Linked DNA regions of Homo sapiens: region 2 is linked to region 1. The links are contacts of gene promoters, found by promoter capture Hi-C in blood cells and fetal thymus (Javierre and others, 2016). All regions are on one chromosome and are shown on one strand. The core of a region is centred on a gene start or on the middle of the fragment in contact, and the rest is flanking DNA. Distances in the headings are between cores, read along the strand shown.

Evidence for each region. The method cuts DNA at HindIII sites, captures the fragments that hold promoters and counts their contacts. A CHiCAGO score of 5 or more calls a contact.
Region 2: a fragment that was not itself captured here is called in contact with the fragment with the promoter of MAN2B2 in region 1 in 1 of 17 cell types (naive CD4 T cells); the score reaches 5.5 in naive CD4 T cells.

The regions. Positions count from the first base shown.
Region 1 is chr4:6,571,918-6,578,070 of GRCh38, forward strand. It overlaps MAN2B2 (mannosidase alpha class 2B member 2), which reads left to right and starts at 3,272. Exons shown (of 19, transcript NM_015274.3): 1 at 3,272-3,431; 2 at 4,661-4,807. The coding sequence starts at 3,294. It overlaps LOC105374365 (a long non-coding RNA gene), which reads left to right. Exons shown (of 3, transcript XR_925098.3): 2 at 1,592-1,690; 3 at 2,274-2,421. RefSeq lists enhancers at 1,468-2,236, 2,237-3,004, 3,005-3,773 and a silencer at 3,062-3,521. The HindIII fragment of the contact is 10,372 bases long and covers 2,352-6,153 here.
Region 2 is chr4:6,872,881-6,878,809 of GRCh38, forward strand. KIAA0232 reads left to right here. Exons shown (of 10, transcript NM_014743.3): 9 at 3,780-3,877. Among named protein-coding and RNA genes, the nearest start is that of TBC1D14, 34 kb to the right of the region's middle. RefSeq lists a silencer at 1,179-1,338. The HindIII fragment of the contact is 3,243 bases long and covers 245-3,487 here.

The DNA of each region.
Region 1 (6,153 bases), core at 2,022-4,521:
CAACTTTCACTACATTCTCTTTGTAACAAGTGTGTCACAAGCCCGCCCATGGGCCAGGCACAGTGGCTTATGCATGTAATCCCAACACTTTCGGAGAATCCCTTGAGGCTAGGAGTTTGAGACCAGCCTGGGCAACATAGAGAGATCTTGTCTACAAAAAAGAAAAGAAAAATTAGTTGGGCATGGTGGCATACACCTATAATTTCAGCACTTTGTGAGATGGTGGTGGGAGGATGCCTCGAGCCCAGGAGTTCAAGATCAGCCTGGGCAACATAACGGGATATTATATCTAAAAAAAAAAGAAAAAAAAAAGTTTTCATTAGCCAGGCATGATGGCACATACCTGTGGTCTCAGCTACTCAGGAGGCTGAAACAGGGGGATCACGTGAGCCTAGGAGTTTGAGGCTGAAGTAAGTTAGGAGTCCACCACTGCACTCTGGCCTGGGCAACAGAGCAAGACTCTATCTCTAAAAAACACAAAAATTAATAAAATAAAAAACAATAAATAAACAAGATTCAATGAGAGGAGACATAGACCCTATCTCCTAATAGGAAGAATGTCAAGATCATATTGTAAATCAAAAATAAAATTATAAGCCCCAGCTGAGAGAATGGACCCCCTGTCGGCCAAGGGGACCCCAAAGAAACCCAAAAAACTAGTTCAGGCCATGATGGGAAGTGGGAGGTCACACATGCCTCATCATAGCCTCCTCCCTTTAAGTTTCGGCACAGCTGACCAGCATTAACATTAACATAGAGATCCTCCTAAGACTGACAGAACACTTTTGTAGCAATCAGATACCCGATTCTAACATGACTCTGGTATAGCAACACACGACAGAGAGCAGGCCCTAAAGGAAATCAAAGTATTTTACCCCAAAATAAATTTTCTTTGACATATTTTGAAATGGACTTGCAAAGTCATCTCTTGTGGGGGAAACTTGCATTCTGTAGAGAATCTCCTTACTTACTAGCTCTTTTCCAGAGAGTCTGATACCTTTTAAGGTCCCCAGAGACATGCACATCTATTCTCTCTGAAGCCTGCTAACTGGAGGCTTCATCTATGTAACAAGAACCTTAGCTTCCACATCCCCATTGTCTTAACTCAAGCATTTCTTTCTGCCGACTCCAACTCTTCAGGTAAAGCTTAACTCTTTTAACCAATTGCCAATCAGGAAATCTTTGAATCCTCCTCTGACCTGGAAGCACCACCCACCCACTTCAAGATGTCCCACCTTTCTGGGCCAAACCAATGTATACTTTACATATATTGATTCATGTCTTTGCCTGTAACTTCTGTCCCCATAAAATGTATAAAGCTATAGCCCAACCACCTTGGGCACCTGTTCTCAGGACCTCCTGAGGCTGTGTCACAGGCCATGGTCACTCCTATTTGGCTTAGAATAAACGTTCTGAGATATTTTAGAGTGTGGCTTTTCTCGTCAACCAAATTCTACAAAGAGCTTGGGGGGTGGGTAATGTTGTGGAGCCCATCTTTGGCAGATACAGTCTGCCAAAGATTGTGACACTGCCTTATCGATAAACTCAGTGGCTTAACACAATTAAAGCTTATTTCTCCCTCTTGTCACAGCTCTTTGGGTTCCTCATGGTTCCATGTGGTTCTTCAGAGCCTCCATTGGTGGCTCTAACCTCCCTGAGGTCCTCGGAGTGCCCTCCACTGGAGCAGTGGGTGAGTAAGAGAGCAGGGCTCACCCACAGGAGGTTGTTAGGGGCCAGCCTGGAAGAGGAGCACAGTGCCCGCCCCCACCCATCCCATTGACTAGCACTTAGCCACGTGGCCGCACCTGGTTGCAGAGGCTGGAGAGTGGAGCCCAGCTGTGAGCCTGGCCGGTCATGGGGACATGTGTTAGTGAGTACTGTCCACGTCAGGCTCAGACCATCTGACCTGAGGCTATGGGGATGCAGGGGTCCCCAGGGGGTGGACAGGACAGAAGGAGGAGGGAGACCTGCTTGGAGAACCTGTTCTCAGTTTCCATTTGTTACATAATGGACAAGAGGACCAGCACTTTTGCTCAGAGCTGCAGCTCTGGTTCCGCTAGGAAATGCCAGGCAGGGGCACAGCCAAGTGGTTCTCAGACAGTAAACCCCAAGCCACAGACCCTTGCTTTCTTGGGCAGGGAGTAGTGGACAGGGCTGACTCCAGGCAACAGTCCCAAACAGGCTGCACCAATGTGACCGCACCTCCCCTGAGTGCAGGCAAGGGGTGCTGTGCTCACGCTCTCAGCCTGGGTGCATCCTTACTTTGTTCACAGCTCCTCTATCGGACCCATTTCACTGAGGCTCAGCGAGGTTACCTATGTCGCCCCAGGTCACCATCCAGTAACCCAGAAAGCTTCTCTTGGCTCCTCCACTAACTGCGTGATCTTGGACAAGTCAGTTACTGTCTCTGAAAGCCAGTTCTCCTCCTTAAAATGGAGACAGTTGAGCCAGGCATGCTGGTTTATGCCTGTAATCCCAGCACTTTGAGAGGCGGAGGCAGGAGGATCGCTTGAGCTCAGGAGTTTGGGACCAGCCTGGGCAACATAGTGAGGCCCCCATCTCTATAAATTTTTTTTTTAATTAGCTGGGTGTGGCAGTGTGCCCCTGTGGTCCCAGCTACTCAGGAGGCTGAGGTGGGAGGATCACTTGGGCCCGGGAGGTCAAGGCTGCAGTGAGCCCTGATCGCGCCACTGCACTCCGGCCTGGGAGACAGAGTGAGATCCTGTCCAAAAAAAAAAAAAGGAGACAGTCCCATAACAAGCCCCCCATGGCGCCGCCCAGATGGGGTTTCGACGCCAGGGAGAGGAGGGAAAGGGTTATCAGGGAAGGTTCCTGGTGGCAGAGCTCACAGGGTCCGTGCTGAGCCGAATTTTGCACGGTAGCCTCAGAGTCCCGGAGCCGAGTCCAGAGGGCGGGATGCAGGTATTGCGAAGAGGCACACGCTCCGAGAGGAACCACCAGAGCGTGGGCTTTGGGCGAGGAGGGGTCTCCTCTGGTTGGGGGAGATCTGGCAGGCTTGGGGGAGATGGGGCTGAAAGGATGGACAGGGAGGGAAGGCCAGAAAGCTGGAGACGGGGATGGAGAGCTAAACCGCAAAGAGCAGGCGCCCTGCCCCGCTGAGGGCCCCGCGCCTCCAGCTCCTCCTTCCCGAGCTTCCCGGGGTCGGCGTCCAGCCGGCAACCAATGGGCCCCGCCCCCGCCCGCAGCCAATGGGCCGCGTCCCCGCCCGCGCGGCCGCCCCGCCCCTCGCGGACCCGGAAGTGGGCCTGGCACCTTCCCGGCCTGCCGCAGGGATGGGGCAGCTGTGCTGGCTGCCGCTGCTGGCACCGCTCCTGTTGCTGCGACCGCCAGGGGTCCAGTCCGCCGGCCCCATCCGGGCCTTCGTGGTGCCCCACAGCCACATGGACGTGGGCTGGGTCTACACTGTGCAGGTAGGTGCCGACCACGCCCCGCGCGCCCCTGAGGCTGCAGCTTCCCTCTCCCCGCGGGATCTGAGTGTGGGTTTGCGTCCCGGGGCCCGATGCCGGCGCAGAAGGAGGCTCAGTGGGTTCAGGACCCCACGCTGCCATTGACTGGTTGCGTCGCTAACTTCGGGCCAGTCACTTCCTGCCTCTGAACCCCCATTTCCCCTTCTGGAGGGTGGTGCAGATTGGAGGGACCCCTGCATTCCCGGCTGGGGAGGGGCTTGGGGGTTGACAGTGGTAACCCATTTTCCAGGGAAGCCTGGAGCAGGAGAGGGTGGGGCTGGCTTCAGAGCAGGTGGATGTCAGGTGCCCGCTGGGAAGGGGCCGGGCTGGTCCCCTGCGGGGCTGAATATTGGAGGCCAGCTCAGCGTCCTCCGCCCCCCAGGACAGGGGTGAAGGTGGACCTGTGGTCACCTCCTGGTTCTGCTCAGGACCTTGGGCGAGGGGCTTTGGTCCCTAAGCCTCAGTTTCCCCATCTGTAAAGGGTAGGGGAAGCATGCCCACTACAGCCAGTTTCCAGAGGAGAAAACCGAGGCCCAGAGAGGGTTGCTGCCTTGCCCAAGGTCGCTCGGGAATAACCCTCATGCCTCCTGACTCCCTGCTCGGTGCTCCTTCCATTCATGTAAGCACTCTGTGGGCACCCTGTGTGCAGGGCCCTCGGGACTCGGATGGGAACACACTACAGCTGTGGTCCTTGGAGCTCCCAGCCTTGGGGAGGCAGACGCCTAGACGCCAGGGACAGCCTGGGGAGCTCTTCCTCTCAGCACCAGCTTTCCTCATTTCAGCCCCAGCAGGCCCCTTTGGGGTCACTGGACCACACCCCGACTGAGGCCTAAGACTTTCCTGTGCTGCCCCTCAATGGCACACTCAGGGCCCAGCCCCCCAAATTGCACACTCAAGGCCCAGCTTGCTCACCCCTCTGAGAAACTGTCCCTGACCCCTGGGCTGGGAGGGCACCTGTCTCTGCCCATGTAGGGTGTCTGTTTCCCCGTCCCTCTCCCCCAGGAGAGCACGATCCCATCCAGTGGGGAGAGCCTGGTATGGAGCGAGTGCCTAATAGCTGTGTGGGGGGTGAGCAGCAGGGAAGGAAGGGCAGAGCCCCCAACCCCATGCAGACACACCTGGCGAATGGCAGGGGCCCCAGGGACACTTGGTCTTGTTGGACCGGGGCTGGCATGATGCTGTCCCCTCCCCAGGAAAGCATGCGGGCGTACGCCGCCAATGTCTACACCTCAGTGGTGGAAGAGCTGGCCCGCGGCCAGCAGCGCCGGTTCATCGCTGTGGAGCAGGAGTTTTTCCGGCTGTGGTGGGATGGCGTCGCCTCGGACCAGCAGAAATACCAGGTAATGAGGTCACCAGGTGACACAGTTGGCCCAGTATCCTGGCAAAGACCCAGGTGGAAAACTCAATGGGGCAGTTCTAGCCAGGGCCAGGGCCAGGCTGGCATAAACCACAGGGCCAAAACCCCACCGGGCTATTCACAGCCTTGTTTAGATCAAGGTTCACGGTGAGTTCCATGCCTGGGAGAGATTGCTTTCAATTTAATCCTGAATTTCTGTCTATTCTTGAAAAAACTGCCAGCTCTGGCAACCCAGCTGTGCACTTCCGTGCCAGCTGGCACTAAGTCAGCAGTGCCCCCTGACACCAGGCATCCCAGGTGTCCCCAAGCCCTCACCCTCTTCTCTCATTTGTGTTATCTGCCTGGCCCCCGGGCCCAGGGTCTGGTGACCCTTGATGAGGGTGCGATAGTCCCTGTGGTTTGAGGGTAGGCAGCAGGTTGCTTCATACAGCATGGAGAGTCAGAGTCCCCGCTGCACAGTGAGGCAGCCTGGGTCCCATCCTGCTCCCGCACCAGGGGACACGACTAGCCCCTGCGAGCCACAGATTCCACTTCTATTAAACGGGGGTGACCGCCCCATTGCAGAAAAGTCATGCCAAGAATGAAGCCCTGGCGTGAGCACCCAGGACGATACTCGGGGGTTCTTAGTTTCCTCCCAGGTATCCACCTGCCTTCAGAATAGTTGCTGAACATAAAGTTCAGGGACGCCAAGTGACTTGCTCAAGGGAGTGAAGCGGAGAAGGGAGAGCAGGGCGTCCACCAGGCCCCGCCAGAGTCACGGGAAGGAGCCGGACATCCAATGGCCACTTGATGCTGCCAGATAGTGGGGTTCTTACCTCAAGTTAAAGAGACATTCCAGGTTCAGAGAGGGCACGCCACTGGCCTGCAGTCACACAGCTTGTAAGCGGCAGGTGGGATTCTGAGCCAGGCATGCCTGACTCGAGGCAGGCCTTTCCAGGATATCCTGTGAGCGTCCCATGCTTCTTCAGGTGGACCCCACCAAACCCAGTGGTCTGTCTCCTAGCCCTCAAAGAGAAGCATGGCCTGCATGGCCCAGTGAAGACCTGGACAGGAAACTTGTGGCAGAGCTCCCTGGAGGCAGGAATTGTTGCCTGCTTCATTCACTGCTGAACCCCCAGTGCCTGAACAGTGCTGGTTGTGTAGTAGGTGCTCACTTAACATTTGTTGAGTGAATGATCTACATATAGTGCACCTTAAGAAACAAACCAAAGGCACAGCCTATAAACAGCTGTGTGTACACATACTGAGGTGTGTAGTGTCTAGGGCAACAAAGGTGTTATGTGTGTAGAGACGGGGATGTTAAGCAAATAGGTTAAAAATGGTAGTGAT
Region 2 (5,929 bases), core at 616-3,115, 300 kb after region 1:
GGCCAGGTTGACTCTTTAGGAGTGGAGCGTTTGCTGTTCTCTGGTCTGTAGCCACAGACAGCTTCCCAGGACCCTGCCTTCCTCCTTCCCAGAGGTTCATCTGGGTCATAAGGAGAGCGTAGAGCTGAGTCTTCACTGTTAGCGTCTTCGTTGATTGAACAGCGTTTATTGAAGGCCCGTTGCTGCTGCCGCCCTACCATTAGCTCATATCTGGACAGCCTTGGTTGCGTGCAAGGTGCTCTCAAGCTTTTCTTTTACATAATTCCCACAAGAACCTTAGGAGATGCCCCCCGCTAGTTTTCAGATGAGGAAGCTGAGTCTCAAGTTTAGTACTGTAATTTGCCCGAAATCACACAGTTAACTATTAAGCATGGGCTAGAATGTAGGTTGTGATTCTTGTGGTCCAGAAGTTTTGCCCTCTACAGCAGCTGCCTGCACTTGGTACCAAGGTAGATGCCAGGGCAGTAGGAGTAGGACACACAGAGCTTCCCTTCATGTGTGTCCAGTCTGGTAAACTGGGCAAGTACAAGACACAGACACAGTTAATGGAATGAAGGTGGGATGTGGCCACAGCTGTGCCACAGAGGACCTCTCAGGAAGAGCTAGGAGGGAGAGGAGGATGCCACCTTGTGGAAAAGAACCAATTCCTTGCAGTGGCATAGGATGATTTTGAGACACAGAGTTCATGTTTCTTTAGTAAAGGGCAACCTTAGCACCCTTAGTCCAGTTTTCTGTCATTAGTTAGTAAAGAATCCAGTTTCACCTCTTAGCTCTAGGTTCCTGGTTATCTGTACAGTCTCTTAGTGGATACTGGTGTTTGTACATAATATTTTTGTTTTTACAGTGAAGTGGTATATAGAGAAACTCTCAGTGCATAAATACTGGTAATTATTTCTTTTGAATGACCTTTAGCTCACACTGTGAGTTAAGTCCCTGCATATTTGCCCTGTAGCATCATGAAGCATCCTTCTTTAGCTTATGTGGGTTGGGGCATTTAGTCTCAGAAGGATAGCCAAGAAAACAGGTAGTCACTTACCTACTCAGCAGAAGTGGCTGGGGACTCCTAATGCTTCTAATATTGGATATGATTCATCACAAGCAGTTGCTGCTCTGAGCCAGGGGCTGACCTGGGAGCTCACAGCATCTCTGGAAAGGAAGAGTAGCATTGTCCCCTTTACAGTAAGGCGAGGAAACAGGCTCAGAAAAGAGGCAGCTTGTTCAGGTAACCATATAAGAAAGCCCCAGCTTTGTGCAGTCTGCCCCCTGCTGGCCTTGCTGCGCATTCATATGTGCATCCCTTCAGCACTTGGGTTAGGCACTGTTCTAGACTTGGGAATGCATAGGCAAACAGATCGTGTCCCTGTCCTCCCCCTGCTCAGGTACCTTCTCAACAGGGACTTGAGGAAATAGGGCACAGACCATGTGACAGCTGGGGCTGCCTGCAGGGAGAGGTGCCAGGCAGCAGTGGCTTGTGCAGGGACAGGAATGCATTGGGTATGCCCCCAACATGACTGGCAAAGAAGGGATGGCATGGGAGTGTGGTGGGGATGAGGCCAGCCAGGCAGCTGGGAGCCAGACCACAGAGGGCCTTGTAGACTCTGTGCACCAGGAGTGCCGTCCCAAACAGCAGTCTCCACAGCTCACGCCCCTGGATTTTCAGTGCTTTCAAGACTCGAGTAATGTAAGCGTCTGGATGATTTTAGCATTAAAGACAGAGAGTCCTGCAGGGAAGCAGTACAGACAGGTGGTGAAAGGCCCAGGATTGAGAACTGTATTGGAATCCAGAGCTTCTTTCCCCAGCTATTAGGCTTTGGGTGCTGACTGAGCCTTTCTGTGCCTCTGTAGTCTGTATGTATAAAAGGAGGCTAGAAGAATGCCCTCATTGTAAGGTAAAGTGCCTAGAACAGTGGCTGGCATGTCATAGCCCGAAACAGGGTGGTGGTCAACTTGAGCATCATGAAGACTATCAGCAGCAGTTCAGCATCACCTTTTCCAAATACCCTGTGGCACAATAAAACCCTCTTGTATGTACAGAATTCCTAAAGCAGGAAGAGAAAATGAAGGAGTGGGGTGTGGAGATGGGCCTGCCTGCCTCTGAGCTATCCTTGTCAAGGAAACCATGTCCTATCCACTCCATGCCCCTCAGCCAGTATAAGTGGTGGCCATATGGAGTGGGCCATGGAGTGAGAAGTCAGCCAAGGAAAAGATGCCTCCTTAGGAGAGATGAAGCCAGGGTTCCTCCCAGCCTCAGCAGAGGACACATGGCATCCTCCCCAGCCGCCCTAGGGCAACCACGCCTCCAAGCCTATGGCTTTGATAAGCAGCGGTCATGGGTGCAATGTGTGTGCCCGGCACTGTGCTTGAGGCTTCACCTCTTTGAATTTGCACAGAAATGTAGGAGGGAAAATGGTGATGTTCTCATCTTAGAGATGAGGATACTAGGGCTCAAAGAGGTTAAATAATTTGTGCAAAGTTACATCACAAGTAAATAGCATGACCTGGAATTGACTGAAGTCTGTCTAATCCCAGAGCCTGGGGTATTCTCATGAACCTCAACTAGTAACTTGGAGTTCTTGGAGCCGTCAGAGAGAACAGCTGTGGAGAGTCTTCCATGTGGCCAGTGCAGCTGCAGGAAGCAGCCCAGCAGGGCCCAGATGGTCTTACCCTTGGCACAGCCTCGCTACTCTGTGCCAAGGTAGAAGGGCGCAGCAGTCACTTGCTCCAGCCTTGTCCTTTGGGGTGTTGTGCAAGGGGCAGGCATGTCATCTCGTCAAACTACCTTGTGGCAACTCTGTGGCAGGGGATGGGGGGTGTGATCTGGTTTTGAGGAAGTAGATGCTCAAGGGTGTTAAAGGACTTAATGCACCATGAATGTCAATGCCAGAGTCCAAAACCCTGGCCAAGTTCCTCCTTTTACTCTGCACTGTGCCTCTGCCCCAGCTATGTTTCTCATGGAGGTAAGGGGAGTAAGAGGCTGTTCTGGATGAAGACCAGCAGTTCTCAGTGCATTAGAATTGCCTGGGAGCAAATCTGCTTTTCAGAAAGTGCCCAGCCCCTGCCCAGGACAGTTCATTTGGAATCTCTGGCAGGAGTCTAAGCCTCTCTAAAGCCCCCAGATGATGAGAATATGCAGCCAGGGTTGAGAACTACTGGGCTCGTTGGATTTGTTTGATATCTTCTCATCCCAGTTTTTTTCCCATTTTGTGGGGCCATTTGCCTGATGGAATCGCTAGCACCATTTCTTTTTCCTATTCATAGATGTGATACATGGTTCAGTATGTTGTTGAGGAAGAACACACAAGGACGTGACCCTGTGTCGTTTCTCCATTGCGTTCCCTTCTGTCTGAGCTTCCTTTGTTCCTCTGTCCTATGAACGTGCTATGATGCACCATCTGTCTCCTCCATCCATTTGTTGTGGAGAGCATGGGCCCTGTGGGTCTCTCTGTCGTGTGTTCCCAGGGCCGATCACATTACAGGTGTGAATAGAAGCTTGTCCAATGAGTGCCTCCTGGTAGAATAACAGGAGTGTATGGTTATGCTGGCCTATTTCTTTTTTTAACTCACCAAACCAAGAATTTTTTGTCAGCATAGCGTTTTTTTTCTCTTACACACCTGCCTGGCTGTGCTTTTAGTGACGACTTAAAACCTCCGAAGGGTTGGGAGACCTAACTGATGTAGCTTTTTAGTGAAAAATGAAACAAGAATGTATGTTTCATAACTGTGTCTTAATGGAATTTCCCCCTTTCCCTCTTTTCCCTTCTCCATTCCAAATGATTAAGAATGTTACACAAATGCCAAGGGAGAGAGTGGTTTAGAAGAATATCCAGATGCTAAAGAGACACCCAGTAATGAAGAGCGCCTGTTAGATTTTAATAGGGTAAGTGGACTGTCCTCCTCCTCGTCATTAACTTACAAACAGCCACCACCTCCAGTTGTCACTGTAGTCAAAAACCTGGGAGTCATGTGAGTGGACCCCACCTCTCCCAGGAACCAGCCAGGCCTGTGGGTGCAGACTTCCTGTTCTCTGGCCTTTGTTCTGAGTCTGCATTCTCCCCCGCTTCCAAACCCCCTTGACTGTTGACTGCCAGTGCTTCCTGAAGAATCCCCAGCTCTCTCCCCAGTCTTGGCTCTACACTACTGCCCGAGGGCATTGCATTACAAATGCAGAGCTGACCCTGTTGCTCCTTGGGTGGGCACACTTTTCATCTTTTTTTTTTTTGTTTACCTAATAAGTGGGAGACCTAGCCTTGTCCTCTTTGAAAGTGCACCCTGAGGCAGCCTTGCCAGTGTGCTTGTTGCCGCTGTCCCGGCTTCTGCAGAACGATCCCGCCCTTTCCGTGTCCTCCTGCACTCTGTGCACGACTCTTCTTGCTGTAGCCAGAGCATGTACTTGCGTTCCGTTTCTGCATGTCTGCCTCTTCCACAAGCCTGTGGGCACCACGAAGGCGGGAGCGGGGCCTCCGCCTGGTTTAGTCTCGTCTTAGACCTTCCCCGGTTAAGAGGCAGGCAGGCAAATGAACCTAAGGAAAATTCTTTTTATTTGGTGTGAATTGTCAGTGTATTAGGGTTCTCCAGAGGGACAGAACTAATGGAATAGGTATATATATACACAAAGGGGAGTTTATTAAGTATTAACTCACACGATCACAAGGTCCCACAATAGGCCATCTGCAAGCTGAGGAGGAAGGAGAGCCAGTCCCAGTCCCAGTCCCAAAACTGAAGAACTTGGAGTCCGATGTTCGAGGGCAGGAAGCATCCAGCATGGGAGAAGATGTAGGCTGGGAGGCTAGGCCAGTCTAGTCTTTTCACATTTTTCTGCCTGCTTTATATTCTAGCCACGCTGGCAGCTGACTAGATGGTGCCCACCCAGATGAAGGGTGGGTCTGCCTTTCCCAGCCCACTGGATCAAATGTTAATCTCCTTTGGCAACACCCCCACAGACACACCCAGGATCAGTACTTTGCATCCTTTAATCCAATCAAGTTGACACTCAGTATTAACCATAACAAGTCCACCCCTTGTCAATTTGAACCCATACACATCTCCTGAAATTATATGTAATCTTCAAATAAAGACAATAAGGTCATAATTATACCTAACATAATACAGCTATGCTTCATACAACCGGAAAAGCACCAATCCCAAACCCAAGTACTATTACATAGAGTTAACAATACTTAAATGCTGATATGAAGTCAATAAATCTTATGTCAGCCGGGCGCTGTGGCTCACGCTTGTAATCCCATCATTTTGGAAGGCCAAGGTGGGCAGATCACCTGAGGTCAGGAGTTCAAGACCAGCCTGGCCAACATGGCGAAACCCCATCTCTACTAAAAATACAAAAATTAGCCGGGCGTGATGGTGCACCCCTGTAATCCCAGCTACTTGGGAGGCTGAAGCTGGAGAATTGCTTGAACCCAGGAGGTAGAGATTGCAGTGAGCTGAGATCGCACCACTGCACTCCAGCCTGGGTGACAGAGCAAAACTCCATCATTCATTCATACATACATACATACATACATACATACATACATAAATATATACATACATAAATCTTGTGTCACATGATAAAGGACAAAAAATAAAATGAGATTTTCTTAGTACAAGTGTATACATGCACAAACGTGTTTTTAACGAAGGAGGAAATACTCCTCAAGACAATTACAGTCCTGGTTTCTGCACCTGGTCACATGGTCGTAGCTGGTATTGATGACTACCTTCTTCTACTACCCATTCTGTATTCCCTTTGCCTTCAGCAAGCACCTCAGCAGGTTGTGGTTTTTTCCCGGTGGAGTGACCTAAACCTTCATTCCTAAAGAGTCTGAGCCATTTGTATCCTGTCTGGACTGGGCTGTTGTAGTTTCCCGTTAACTTGAATCACACGGCATGTGATCAAGTTGACACTCAGTATTAACCATCTGTCAGTGTC